Regions from separate parts of the Homo sapiens genome. Here regions 1 and 2 are each linked to region 3. Evidence: promoter capture Hi-C in human tissues and cell types (Jung and others, 2019). All regions are on one chromosome and are shown on one strand. Each heading gives the region's core, a stretch centred on a gene start or on the middle of the fragment in contact. The rest is flanking DNA. Distances are from core to core; before and after follow the strand shown.

What was found. The method cuts DNA at HindIII sites, captures the fragments that hold promoters and counts their contacts. A contact is called where the count stands out against the background at its distance.
Region 1: a fragment that was not itself captured here is called in contact with the fragment with the promoter of HS3ST5 in region 3 in 1 of the 25 tissues and cell types used here (hippocampus).
Region 2: a fragment that was not itself captured here is called in contact with the fragment with the promoter of HS3ST5 in region 3 in 1 of the 25 tissues and cell types used here (mesendoderm cells).

What each region holds. Positions count from the first base shown.
Region 1 is chr6:114,149,170-114,153,388 of GRCh38, forward strand. The region is part of intron 3 of HS3ST5 (heparan sulfate-glucosamine 3-sulfotransferase 5); the gene reads right to left. The region is part of intron 6 of HDAC2-AS2 (HDAC2 and HS3ST5 antisense RNA 2); the gene reads left to right. Among named protein-coding and RNA genes, the nearest start is that of HDAC2, 180 kb to the left of the region's middle. The HindIII fragment of the contact is 4,615 bases long and covers 529-4,219 here.
Region 2 is chr6:114,510,278-114,514,903 of GRCh38, forward strand. All of the region lies in intron 2 of LNCPOIR (lncRNA periodontal mesenchymal stem cell osteogenesis related), which reads right to left. Among named protein-coding and RNA genes, the nearest start is that of LNCPOIR, 33 kb to the right of the region's middle. The HindIII fragment of the contact is 3,293 bases long and covers 1-3,028 here.
Region 3 is chr6:114,340,619-114,345,177 of GRCh38, forward strand. HS3ST5 (heparan sulfate-glucosamine 3-sulfotransferase 5) reads right to left here and starts at 2,405. Exons shown (of 5, transcript NM_153612.4): 1 at 1,577-2,405. LOC107986638 (a long non-coding RNA gene) reads left to right here and starts at 1,707. Exons shown (of 8, transcript XR_002956366.2): 1 at 1,707-1,771. HDAC2-AS2 (HDAC2 and HS3ST5 antisense RNA 2) reads left to right here. Exons shown (of 10, transcript NR_125845.1): 10 at 1-111. The HindIII fragment of the contact is 10,455 bases long and covers 1-4,559 here.

The DNA.
Region 1 (4,219 bases), core at 1,586-4,085, 190 kb before region 3:
TGGCGATTCCTCAAGGATCTAGAACCAGAAATACCATTTGACTCAGCAATCCCATTACTGGGTATATACCCAAAGGGTTACAAATCATTCTACTATAAAGACACATGCACACACATGTTTATTGAAGCACTATTTACAATAGCAAAGACTTGAAACCAACCCAAATGCCCATCAATGATAGACTGGATAAAGAAAATGTGGCAAATGTACACCATGGAATACTATGCAGCCATAAAAAAGGATGAGTTCATGTCCTTTGCAGGGACATGGATGAAGCTGGAAGCCATCATTTTCAGCAAACTAACACAGGAACAGAAAACCAAACACCACATGTTCTCACTCATAAGTGGGAGTTGAACAATGAGAACACATAGACACAGGGAGGGGAACATCACACACTGGGGCCTGTTGGCAGGTGGGGGGCAGGGGAGGGAGAGCATTAGGACAAATACCTAATGCATGTGGGGCTTAAAACTTAGATGGTGGGTTGATAGGTGCAGCAAACCACCATGGCACATGTAACAAGCCTGCACATTCTGCACATGTGTCCTGGAACTTCAAGTAAAATTTTAAAAATTAAAAAAAAATTTCTTAGGTCAGCACAAATTTTAAATCTGAGGTATATCACCACTTTGATATTACATGGAAAAAAGTGTAATACACATATACAAAAGTTTAGTTTTTATCAACTATTCAAAAGTAGTCCTGAATGATTTAAAATACTGTCCAAAATTGTGGTAATTCTGCATCCTGTCATATCAAGAAGAGACAGGCTTAAAAGAGTTTCCCTTTGTTGGTTAGATTAACATTTAGCCAAAAGATAAGTGAGGCTATTCATGTTAGGAGGATGCTCTGGTACTTTTGGCTAGTGTTAATTTTAAATACAAGAATTTGTATTCTATAGGGAGTAGGAAATGACTATGTTTTTCTTGATGACCATTAAATATTCTTACTGAAAACTAGTCTTCTGCTCAATATTGTCACATAAATGGTTTTAATTTAAGAATACTTTCAATACAATTAATGGCTTTGGATGTCCTGTTAAGTTTGTTTTTAATCTGTACTGTTATTTGTGCACACTGTGGTATTCACACAGATCTAGATGTCACATAGCCTACGTTCACACAACCGCTAATATAAAAAACACCATTGAGCTCTATTAAGTTCCAGTGGCACACAGTGCCAAAGGATTGTTGTTCAATGTTTGACTTATTAAAGTTTCCTAAGACAGGCAATCTCATAAGCAAACGTATAGAGGCCCAGCTGCCCTTTTGACTAAATACATCAAAATAAGTATTTACTTCATATATGAGAAATAGTACAAGTGCCCTTTACAGAGAAGAGAATCTGGGGAAAGCTGCTTCAATTAGACCTTTATATGAAGGACTGGAGGTGAAAGCCCTATGTCATTTTCATTCAAGAGAGGTTTTATGAAGAATATGGGGTTTCACAAGCTGTCTGGGTGTGATGGGAGAAGGAAAGGAGGATTTGCATTCTATAGCATACATGCAATATTTTTTAAAAAAGATTCAGAGAAGGAGTTAATGCCTGAGTGTAGGAGATGTATTCAGCAATTATAATAAAATCCTGAAAGAAAGCCTTATCATTTGTACTCATATTTATTTATTCACTGCAAGCATGAAAAGAAACCCCAGAAGGAATCGTCAAATTGTCTTATGTGAATTACATTGGAAAACGTGTGTTTTGGACATTTTCAAAGCTCAAACTATTTTGCTTGTTCTTGAAAGTGGGAATTCTAGTGCAACTAGAAAGATAAACATCCTTAATATCCTTTCACCTTGCATTTTTACTGCTTTTTTTAAAGCATGAATAAAAAACCAGAAAGCACATATTCGCTTGCCCCTGTACATTTTAAATGACTGTTTTACAAGTCATTCAAAAGATGGCTGACTCTGATAGAATGAAGCACTCAAAAATGTTGATGCTGAGGCAAAGGAATGACCCATGCCTTACAAATTAATCATGTTGAGTTAGGATTTTTTGGTATTGTTTATTTGTCCCAGCATTATCTGACCCACAAAATAGCTATCCGACACCACGTAATAAAAATCCTTTTTTATAATGGGGTTCTACTTAGAGATCAAATGTCAGTGTTCTTTGATCTTTGTTGCTAAGATGTTCTCATTATATGGAACAGAATTCAGCAGGTGTTTGATTATTTATCCAGCAAAGGGGAAGGTGAGCTGGGATTAAATTGTTATGGCATAGCTTTGTTTTAGGCCCGCTGACTCTTGCTGAATTTGGAATAATTGTGTTGCTGCATAGCAATCTTGCTAAGTACAATAGGACACTGAAAAGCTTGGCTCAGAAACTAATGGTCTGCAGCTACCATCTGTGGGATTGAAACTAAATGCCTCTAAAAGAAATACTCATAAATGTAACTAGCCATCTTGTTGATTAGCTTTCTGGTAAATGGGATTCCAGTTGCCTAAATGAACCAGTGCAACCTCTCTCTGGAAGCCAATAGATGGACAACCACTTGCTTCTGAGTTAGCAGTTGCCCAATAAATTCCAATATATTTAAAGCTCCTTTGAAAGAAGACACTCCCAAATTATGTAAAATGTAGAAAATTATATCAACACTTCACAAGCTATAAATTAAAATAGAAAAATATAAATTCCTGTGCCAGTGTTTTCAAGGTCATTATTTTTCAATTCAATACATTCAGCTATGCTCTTATTGCCTATTCTTTGTGGCTAGGTTAATTATATGGTGACAATTTCAAAATTATGTTTATTTTATTTTATTTTTTTTAATTTTTGAGACGGAGGGTCTGTCGCCTAGGCTGGAGTACGGTGGCGTGATCTCGGTTCACTGCAAACTCTGCCTCCCGGCTTCAAGCGATTCTTTTGCCTCAGCCTCCTGGGTAGCTGGGACTACAGGCGCGTGCCACCATGCCCGGCGAATTTTTTAGTAGAGACGGGGTTTCATCTTGTTAGCCAGGATGGTCTCGAACTCCTGACCTCGTGATCGACGCACTTCGGCCTCCCAAAGTGCTGGGATTAAAGCCATGAGCCACCGTGCCAGGCCATAAATTTATGTTTCTTATGCAAAATAAATTTCAGTTTCTATTCTCAATATTAGCATGCATTTTCTATTTTTAAAGAAAAAGAATTATTCCTTGCAAATTCACACTTCTTTGTTTCAGTGTACACATCTATGCTGCACATACCACTCTGATAATCCATTAACTGTTAACACTCCTACCTTCTTAACTTTTTACATTTTTCACTCCAGAAATTTAAGCTTTTGAGGATATCATTTCCTGCTGAAATCCAGTTAGAGGAGAAATTTTAGGTAATTAGAAATAATTCTGTTACTACCTGAGCTAAGCAGAAACTGGTTTTTATAAAGAAGGAGGAGTGTGAAAGCTCCCGGCAACTCTACAGATTTGCTTTTCTCATCTTTCTTCTCAGAATTTCATCTTACAGCTCAGGAAAGTCGAGGCTAAAGTGGATTTTGCTGAGAGTTTGTCAAGTTAGAGGGGCCAGCGCTGGCTCAGTTCTCCGCCTGGACACATTTTCTCTTCCTGTGGTCCAACCTCCCAGTGTAAGTGCGATCCCAAGTGGCCTGCCCCTTGAGCAGTCAGGCCCTGTCTCTACTGCGAGGGATGTAAAAGTTCAGCACCCATGAAGCCTTTGCTGCTAGAGGCTTTGGCCTGTGCTTTGAGCTGTGATTCCAAATCTTCCTTATCTTGAATGATTGGCTCCCAGTTTTGTTAACTGAATCTGCCTGGGGATCTGCCTAATAATTTTCATGCTCTTTATTTTGCTTTGGGCTAGTCCTAGTCTTTCTCTCAGCCCTCACACCCCTCTTGACTCTACAAGGAGTTGAAGTCTTGCCACTGATCCCCACCCAATGGTTGAGACTTTACCTATCAGCTTGAATATTCCCAGTTGCAGTATTTAACTTGTTCACTGAAACACCCTTTTACTGCCTGATGCCCACGGTACTGTTAATGGGGGCAGAGCTGCCGTTTGGATCCTGGGCTCTGTCTCCTGGTTTAGACTTCCTCACAGTACCAACAGCTGGGATATCTCCTTTTGTATGTTCCATGCTGGTGCGGGAGTGCCAGGTCCTAAACCCAGGTCAGCCCTGCTCCAGGATAGCTAATTGAATAATGTCCAGTAATCCCCATTAAATAACAATAGGTATAGGTGGAAATATTTACATGTTCTATTGGGATTTCGTTATATT
Region 2 (4,626 bases), core at 132-2,631, 170 kb after region 3:
AAGCTACTATGAACAACTTTATGCATATAAACTAGAAGAAATGAATAAATTCCTGGAAAAATACAACCCTCCTAGCTTACATCACGAAGAATTAGATACCCTGAACAGACCAATAACAAGCAGCGAAATTGAAATGGTAATTTAAAAATTACCAACAAAAAAAGTCCAGGACTAGATGGATTCATAACAGAATTCTACTAGACATTCAAAGAATTGGTACCAATGCTTTTGACACTATTCCACAAGATAGAGAAAGAAAGACCCCTCCCTACTTCATTCGTTGAATCCAGCATCACCCTAATACCAAAACTAGGAAAGGACATAACCAAAAAGAGAATTACAGACTCATATCCCTGATGAACATAGATGCTAAAATCCGTAACAAGATACTAGGTAACTGAATACAACAACATATCAAAATGATAATCTGCCATGATCAAGTGTGTTTCATACCAGGGATGCAGGGATGGTTTAACATATGCAAGTCAATAAATGTGATACACTGCATAAACAGAATTAAAAACAAAAATCACATGATCATCTCAATAGATTCAGAAAAAGCATTTGACAAAATCCAGTATCGCTTTATGATTAAAACTCTAAGCAAAATTGGCCTACAAGGGACATACCTTAATGTAATAAAAGCCATCTATGACAAACCCACAGCTAACATAATCCTGAATGGGGAAAAGTTGAAAGCATTCCCTCTGAGAACTGGAACAAAACAAGGATGTCCACTCTCACCACTCCTCTTCAACATAGTACTGGAAGTCCTAGCCAGAGCAATCAGACAAGAGAAAGAAATAAAGGTCATCCAAATCGGTAAAGAGGAAGTCAAACTGTCAGTGTTTGCTGATGATAGGACTGTTTACTTTGAAAACCCTTAGGACTCCTCCAGAAAGCTCCTAGAACTGATAAAAGAATTCAGCAAGGTTTCTGGATACAAGATTAATGTACGCAAATCAGCAGCTCTTCTATACACCGACAGCGACCAAGCAGAGAATCAAATAAAGAACGCAACCCTTTTACAATAGCTGCAAAAAAAAAAAAAAAAAACCTTAGGAATATACCTAACAAAGGAGTTGAAAGACCTCTACAAGGAAAACTACAAAACACTGCTGAAAGAAATCACAGATGACACAAACAAATGCAAACACATCCCATGCTCATGGATGGTTAGAATCAATATTGTAAAAATGACCATACTGCCAAAAGTGATCTACAAATTCAATGCAATCCCCTTCAAAATACCACCATCATTCTTCACAGAATTAGAAAAAACAATTCTAAAATTCATACGGAACCAAAAGAGAGCCTGCCTAGCTAAAGCAAGACTGAGCAAAAAGAACAAATCTAGAGGCATCACACTACCAGATTTCAAACTATACTATAAAGGCCACAGTCACCAAAACAGTATGGTACTGATATAAAAATAGGTAATAGACCAATGGAACAGAATAGAGAACCGAGAAGTAAACCCAAATACTTACCACCAACTGATCTTTGACAAAGCAAACAAAAACATAAAGTGGGGAAAAGACACCCTTGTCAACAAATGAGGCTATCCCACTTTCAATGTCACCTTCCTGCACTTTGCAATGTTTAGGAGGTCAATAATGCCACCTGTTGCTAACTAGCTGTTAACTCACTTCTCTCTGACAAGGGGACAGAGAAAACATATATGCTCAGCCATTTGAGAAATATTTCTTTAAAACTATTTCCTCCCTAGTCTGCCAGCATAAAAATTGATCTGCTGATGTTTTCTTTATAACTCTTCATAATTTTTATCATTTTCTTTATTTTATAATTTTAAATTTCTCTAATTTGTGTGTCAAACTCTATGATAATAATAACAATAATGATTACTTATTAACTGCTTACCTTGCACCAAATACGTTATATAATGTATCTCTAGTCCTCACAATTGTTTTTGCATCTTATATTTTATTATATCCATTTTACATATGAGAAAACTGAGGCTCAGAAATCTTTTTCATCTCAGTGCTTTTACTTTTTCCACTAAGACTTTTGTCTTCTCTACAGACTTTCTCTAAATTAGGCTACTGCTATTATACTAAAACATGATAATCTGCCACAATTTTAAAATATTTTTAAAATTTTCAGGTTCTTTCCACAAGTACTTTGCCTCTGAATGTCTTGAATTTATTAAATTTATTTTCTTCTACTTATACTTATTCTCTACTCCTTGAACATGTAGAAACAATTCTGTTCTCATTTTTTTCTTTATGGTTCTGTAAGATTTAGAATTTGCCATTCTTGTGCCTGTCATTTTAACAGCTTTCCTGTCACTTAAGTTAAAAAAAATACCAAAGTGTTCAAAGGAAATTAAAACTATTCAGCCTTCATAATTTAATAGATTCATTCTCTGAGTGAAAGGTGAAAGTGAAGGATTCTCATAATTCTATTTATTTGGTTGCTCTTCTAGTTATGTTTGCAAGTAACTCCTTGGACCTTTCTTATTGGAAACTTTATTTTCTTACATTATGTTTCAAAATAATGTGCTAGTTTGATGAATTATAAATAATATTCTGCCAAAAGAATTTTTGTAGAACATATCCACAATCCTGTCTAAATATATAAGTATATACATATTAGAATTTGACATAGACATGATTTTAGATCTGACGATTTTTTATAAGAAAATTTAATCTTTAACCTAAGGTTTTACATAGGTATTTAAAAATAAAAGGAGTACTTTTCCATGCTGTCAACATAGTTAACTATAAATCAATCTGCAGAATTTTAACAGCAAATAAAACCCACTTCATGCCTCTTAGCAACATTCTCTGCATGCAAATGTAATTGTTTGTTGTCCGGTGACTTCTATCACCCTTGCTTGAATGCCTTTAAAATATGATGTCCTTGCTTTTCCCTCTTTGTTTTACCGACAACCTTAATATTCTGGCTTTTACTAATTTTCTATATAAAGATTTTACCCCAGATGAACTCACTGTTTCCACAAAGCTTTCTCTCACCTTCCTCCTCACCCTTGCTTTCATTATTCTATCCACATGGATAGAATATTTCTTTCTTCACCACAATCTTTCTAAGCTTAGCCAGTATTTAACATTGAGACTAAAACGTGTCTCCTCAGAAAGTCTTTTTGATCATCCTCCCTCCAATGTCCATTCATCTGTCCTTCTGACCATCCATTCCATCCATCCATCCATCCATTTATTTATCTAATAACACCACACATATTCATGGAACCTTGGACATTGTGGTAGACTATTAGTTATAAAGACATAAATCAGATAAAGTGTGAATATGAGCACAATTTGTCTTAAGAGAATTGGAGAAAGGCCACTTGAAGGATACAGTTTGACAGCTGGAAAAGTGTAAATAGAACATTTGTGACAGAGGCAACATATTGTACAAAGTTGTGGATAGAGGTGACAGAAAGTAACTTCCATTTGGGATCTACATGAGAGTCAGTGTTATTAGAGCATGAAGTGCAATTGGAAAGAGGTGGGAAACAAGGCTGAACAAATCATGAACATGGTATACCTTTCTTAGGAATTTGAGACTTTGTGATAAAATTGTTGAGAGTCATTTACATTTTTAAAATAGGGACTGGTGTAGCCATATTTACTTTCACAAAGATAAGTCTAAACAATACTGTTGAGAATAAATTGAAGCATGAGGGTAACATTAAAGATGAGGAGACCAATAAGCCTACTGCAAGAGTATGAGCAAGAAAAAGGACGTCGCATTAGAAACTGCCAGTCAGGAGGAAGAAGAAAAGCCTATTTGAACATAAATAGAATCTGTAACTAGATGACGGTAAGGGAGAAAAAGAAGCAGATATGAGAACTAGCATGTACAGTTCTTGAAAAATTGGGTGGATAGTGGTACCTTCTGACAAACTGTGAATGAAAGGAATAGAAAGTACATTTGCCCTGGAGTAATGGAGAGATTTAAAGATAAAAAGATTTTAAACATGTGGACTTAAAGGAATCTGTGAAACATCAAAGGGCAAATGCTTGGTAAATGGCTGATACATGTGTCTGAAACTCCAAAGAAAGGTCTGTACTGTATTTGAGAATCATTAACACTTAAGTTAATATTGAATTCACAAGTGGTTGCTTCTCTCCCTGTTTAACCAAAACACTCATATTGCCAAGAGATAGTTCCAGCTACCCTGCTTTTCTGTCAGGTCGTCCTTTGTGCCAGGTTCCATCTTGTTCAGGGACATAACTTGTGCTATTTCCTTGGCTGAAACATTGGCCCTTTGCCTTGACATTACTACCTCCTTTCTTCCTTAAAGCTTAACTTAAAATCCACTTCTTAATAAAGGCATTTCCTAATGCATTCAAAATAAATACTGTTGTTTTTTCTTAAATCATCTCCCAACATCCTTTACTTTGTTTGCGTATTGCTTTTGGTAACTGCAATTTTTAAATGTGTTTCTCAGTGAATTCTTTTGGTCTGTTTCCCCTATTTCAGGGTGAGCTTCACAGGGCAAATTTACGTCTGCCTTTTCCATGATTGTATTCAAGATCTTAGCACTCAGTAGGCACACAAACATTTTCAGAATGAATAAGTGACATTATGCATTTATGTTTCACTCTTTTTTTTTTTTTTTTTTTTTTTGAGACGGAGTCT
Region 3 (4,559 bases), core at 1,155-3,654:
AGTAGTATTGTTTTCATTTCTTTAAAAACTTCACTAGGAGGAAACCCCAAGGTAACAATGACAACAACAAAAATCTATTGCAACATAATTGATAGCAATAAAACCTTTTTTAAAAAATAATCATTTTTGATATTCATATTTGTAATCCCCTTTTATTATCTTCAACTTTTTCTTGAAAAGACCTTAATATATTTGAAATAAATTATAATGTGTAATTTGTCTAAAGCTCTGAAATATGTAGAAACTACTAAGTAAAACCTTTGAGAAGCACCAGCTGTTTATTACTTCTAGCAAATCAGTTTAGAAAGGAGCATTAGCACAGAAAGAAGGCCCACCCACCCACTTTCGCCCCCACCCAACCCGACCCTGCATGCTATTTATCAGACCAAGTTTACATAAATCAGAGAAGAGTTACAGTGCTATTAAATGTATCCACGAAGTAATATGACATAAAGCACTTTGCAAATATTAAATCTCTCCCCAGTGTTTTCTAAGAAGAAACTGGTATTCGTATTCGGAGACAGAGAGGAGAGGGGGAGAGAGGGGAGGGAGGGAGGGAGAGGGAGAGGGAGAGGGAGAGGGAGAGGGAATAGGGAGAGAGGGGGAGAGAGAGAGAGAGAGAGAGAGAGAGAGAGAGAGAGAGTGAGTCCCACCGGGTGAAGACAGGGTAGACCACGAATGTGAGCATCAGCTCCCTTGGGTGGGTGCCCTGAAGCACTGAAGTAGGGAAGCGGAAGAGTAGAGGAAACCCACCAAGGTGAAGTGACTCCGGAGTTGTTTGTTTGCTGGGCGCTTGGAACCTCCAGGTAAAGACATCCACCTTAAGCTGGACGCTCCTTGCAGGTTGCCCTAAACCAAGGTGGTCGCCCAAGTAACAGGAGCAGGAGTCTCAGCGCTCCAGTGAGTAGCGACAGCGACCTCTCAGACTTGTTTGTAGTAACAGTATGACCACCCTTCGACTGCATCCATCCCGCGCGCGCGCGCGCGTGTGTGTTGGGTGGGAAGAGATGCATAAAGTGGGGCTGTGAGGGGTGTGGGGGGGGCCAGCTGGGAAGAGAAAACCCCACCCACATGTTAACTTAGCCTTTGCCTGTTCTTTGCCTGCCCTCTGCCTGTCCTCTGCTGGGGCCTCGCAGGCCCCCACTGTCCCAAAGCTGCCCTCGCGCTCCAAACAGCTCCACAGCCACCCCAGAAGTGACCGAACGCGAACCCCTAAACTCTGGCGAGCGCAGTAAACGCGTGTTCCCTTTCTCCCTCAAAGAGAGCGCTACCCAGCGCTCTGGGAGAGACTGAGAGAGAAACAGACAGGCAGGCTGACTGACACCTTCTGTCTAATTTTACCCCAGGAATTGCCCCCGCCGTTTCTCATCTCGCACTAGTTTAACCTCTGGTCCTAAGCAAACCTCTCAAAAGTCTTCCCCAGGCAGCGCCCAGGAGAACCGAACCCCACAAAGTGCTTTTTTGCTGGCATCACCCGGATGCTTCCCTTTGGCGATTTGCCCCTTCTCATTTCCCCCCAAATCTAGAGGTCTCAAAGCCCCTCCCCCGCGCGAGGCGGGCAGCGCGCCTTGCTCACCGTGGTCCCCGGCGGTGGCGGCGCGGGCGGGAGCCTCAGGGCGCGGGGGTCGGCGGCGGGTCGCGTGGGGGTCACCCGGCCGCTGCTGCGGTCCGGACGGCAGTTGGTCCAGTAGTTTCGGATGCCCGGGCTAGGCTCGGCGGAGAGCGAGTCGGCGTGAATGAGAGCAAACCAACAGGGCTGTGCGTGGCGCGTGTGAGTAAGACGCGAGCGGGCCCCACACGCAGGCGGCGGCGGCGGCGGCGGCGGCGGCGAGGTCTGAGGCGGGGAGCCGGGCGGGGGGGCAGGCGGGCGAGAAGTAGTGGAGTTTAGGGCGCGTTTCCTGCACTTCCCCGAGAGGCTGGAACCAGGTGCGGCAGGGCGCGCTCCCGTGGCGCGGGCACGGCACGGGCGGCCGCAGGAGCCGGAGTCCGCGCAGTGCCGGAGACCGCAGCCGCTCTGCGGGGGGAGGTGCGCATCCTCCTTGCCCCACGAGGGCACCGGCGCAGCCCCGGACCCTGCGCGCAGAGGGCGAGACTTCGGGCGTCCTCGGTGACAGCTCCTCGGGCAGCCCGCTCCCTCCCAATCCGCCCAAAAGAGCAACACTCAGTGTGACTGGGATCTTCCCTTCCTGCGTCCTCGAGCCTCCGGTGCCAAGCTGTGCGGGCGCCCCGCTCCCCGCGGCTGGCGCTGTCACGGCCGCCGCCCGGCCCCCAGAGCGCCCGAGCCGGCAGCTGCCTCCCGGAGACGTGCCCAGCTGTGTGCGCGTGTGTGTGTCTAAGCGAATCTCTTCCCCTCCATCACTTGGGCGCGCAGGAGGGACCGGGTCCCTGGCGACCAGCTGCAGAGTGGCTGCCAGTCCACACCCTCCCGGCTCTCTCCCCACCCACCCCGCCCCTACTCCTCCTCGCCTTCCCCTCCTCCCCGTGCTCCTCCTCCAGCTGCCGCTCCCGAGCTCCCAAAGGCAGCGGAGAAACCGCAGCGAAAGGGAGGAGGAGGAGGGTGGGGAAGGAAGCGCAGGTGTCTTCGGCGGAGAGACGGGCGCACGCACCGGAGCGGCTTGCTGCAGGGGGAGGGCAGGGCCTTAGGCGGAGAAAGGGGAGGAGGAGGATTTACCCGGAGGCGGAGGTCCCGCAGCTGAGCCACTGCGCGTCCCACCCAGGCGCTGGAACCGCGGGCGAGCAGCGCAGTGGGGCTGCCGGGTGGGCGCGCAGGGCTCCCAGTTGGACTGAGGTCGCAGCTTGGGGAACCTGCGGAGGTGACCAGGGTGGCAGAACTCGGGGACACAGAGGTCGGAGGGACCCAATTGCTGAGGCGCTGAGACCGGTCTCTCTGGGGTGAGGGGGATGCCTAGACCCAGAGCTTGGGGCACACAGGTGTCCAGGAAGCTGGTGTGTGTGGCTCCAGAGTGCCAGGCGGGAGAGCCGGAGGCGGTGAAGGGTCGGGCGGCGGCCGCGGCGTGCTTGGGGCTGCTGTGTGCATCCGGAGTCACAGGGGGCGATCACCGCCTAGCTGGGAAGCGGAGCTCAGGACTCAGCCTTCTTTCAGGTCCCAAGTCCAAAAGCCGAGAGGCACACTAGCCTTCCCAATTTAGTCTGTGTTCCTCCAACCCTTTGCCCCCAGCAAAACAACAGGCCAGGAGCTGATTCTACCTGCTACTTACTGTGCTCTTTACCGGACTGAAAGGACTCTACTGCTCCAAGGAGACTGATGTGTTGCTTCCTCTCTCCCAACTCTAGTCCCCTCCCTCAACATACATTCCTACCCAACCAAAATTATCCAGAACATTGTATTTCTCATTGATAAACTTTTTCCCTCTGGGGTTCCCTAAAAATGAAAATCTTTCCTCCCTTTTTATCTGTAGAGGCATTAAGTCTCTTGCTTACATTTCATAGTACAAATGCAGTACACAGAAAAGTCCTTTAGGCAAGAAATCACAGCATTATTGCTTATGACGGCTTGTCTGTTTTCAAATGACAGTCGCAGAATGCAAATTTGTGTCAACCTGAGGTCAGTGGAGAGAGTTGGTCCATTTAATTAGAGGTATTTTGGAAGGAATCTGGGAAACAACACTAGAAAGAATTGCTGTACTTTCTCCAGTACCCATTCCTTTTTATTATGGTAATTTCACTCTGTTAATTTAGGCAATCTGAAAATGAAAGGTCGGATGCAATTTACAAGGCACAATATTTCTAGATTCTCATTCAACAGCCCGCCCCACCTCCTTCCTCCCACCACTCTTACCATCACCTCAAAAGGTCATGAGCTAAGAACCGAAACTGCACTTTTTAAATCTCAGGATATAGCCTGAATGACAAAGCTGTTGAGTTTTAGAAAGAGACCAGTTAAGTCTAAACTTATTTACCAACTACTCAGACAAAATCATATGCTCAGCAGCAACAATAAAATGTATACTGTGTAATATATTGAGCAGGAGGAAAGATGGCTGTTTGCCAGATATGTGATCCATTAACCTCTTTAGCTCATTGTTGGCAACAATAGCATACAATCACATTCCTATGTTTGAAAGACAAGAGATTTTTTTTTCCCATCTTAAAATCACAATGCCACATTATAGTCTAAAAGAAACCTCAAACAATAAAAGTAATAAGAAAGGAAGAAACATGGTTTGTTTTTTTTCTGAACAAATGTTGCTGTTCTGTTTTTTTTTCTTGAGGGGAAAAATGCTGATAAGCAATAAAGTCCACAAAAGCATGACAATAGATTTTGAAGAATGCATCACTCCATCTATTAGTCCTTTCAATTAGTAAACTTTATTTAAAAGGTTTATTTATATTATCTTTTGATTGGTATTCAGTCTTTCTTTTGTGCCTGGAAGATGACTGAGAAGGAGGATGGGTGAGCTGAATCTGGTTTCTCATAATTCTGTCTTGCATCAGGTTTATGTCTGGCAGGAGAGGAATGCTCAGCAGCCTGTGCTTTCTCAGCAATCCTAACTTCTCCTCAGAGGATCCTTTGCTCTGTAGCTGATGGATTGTGAGAT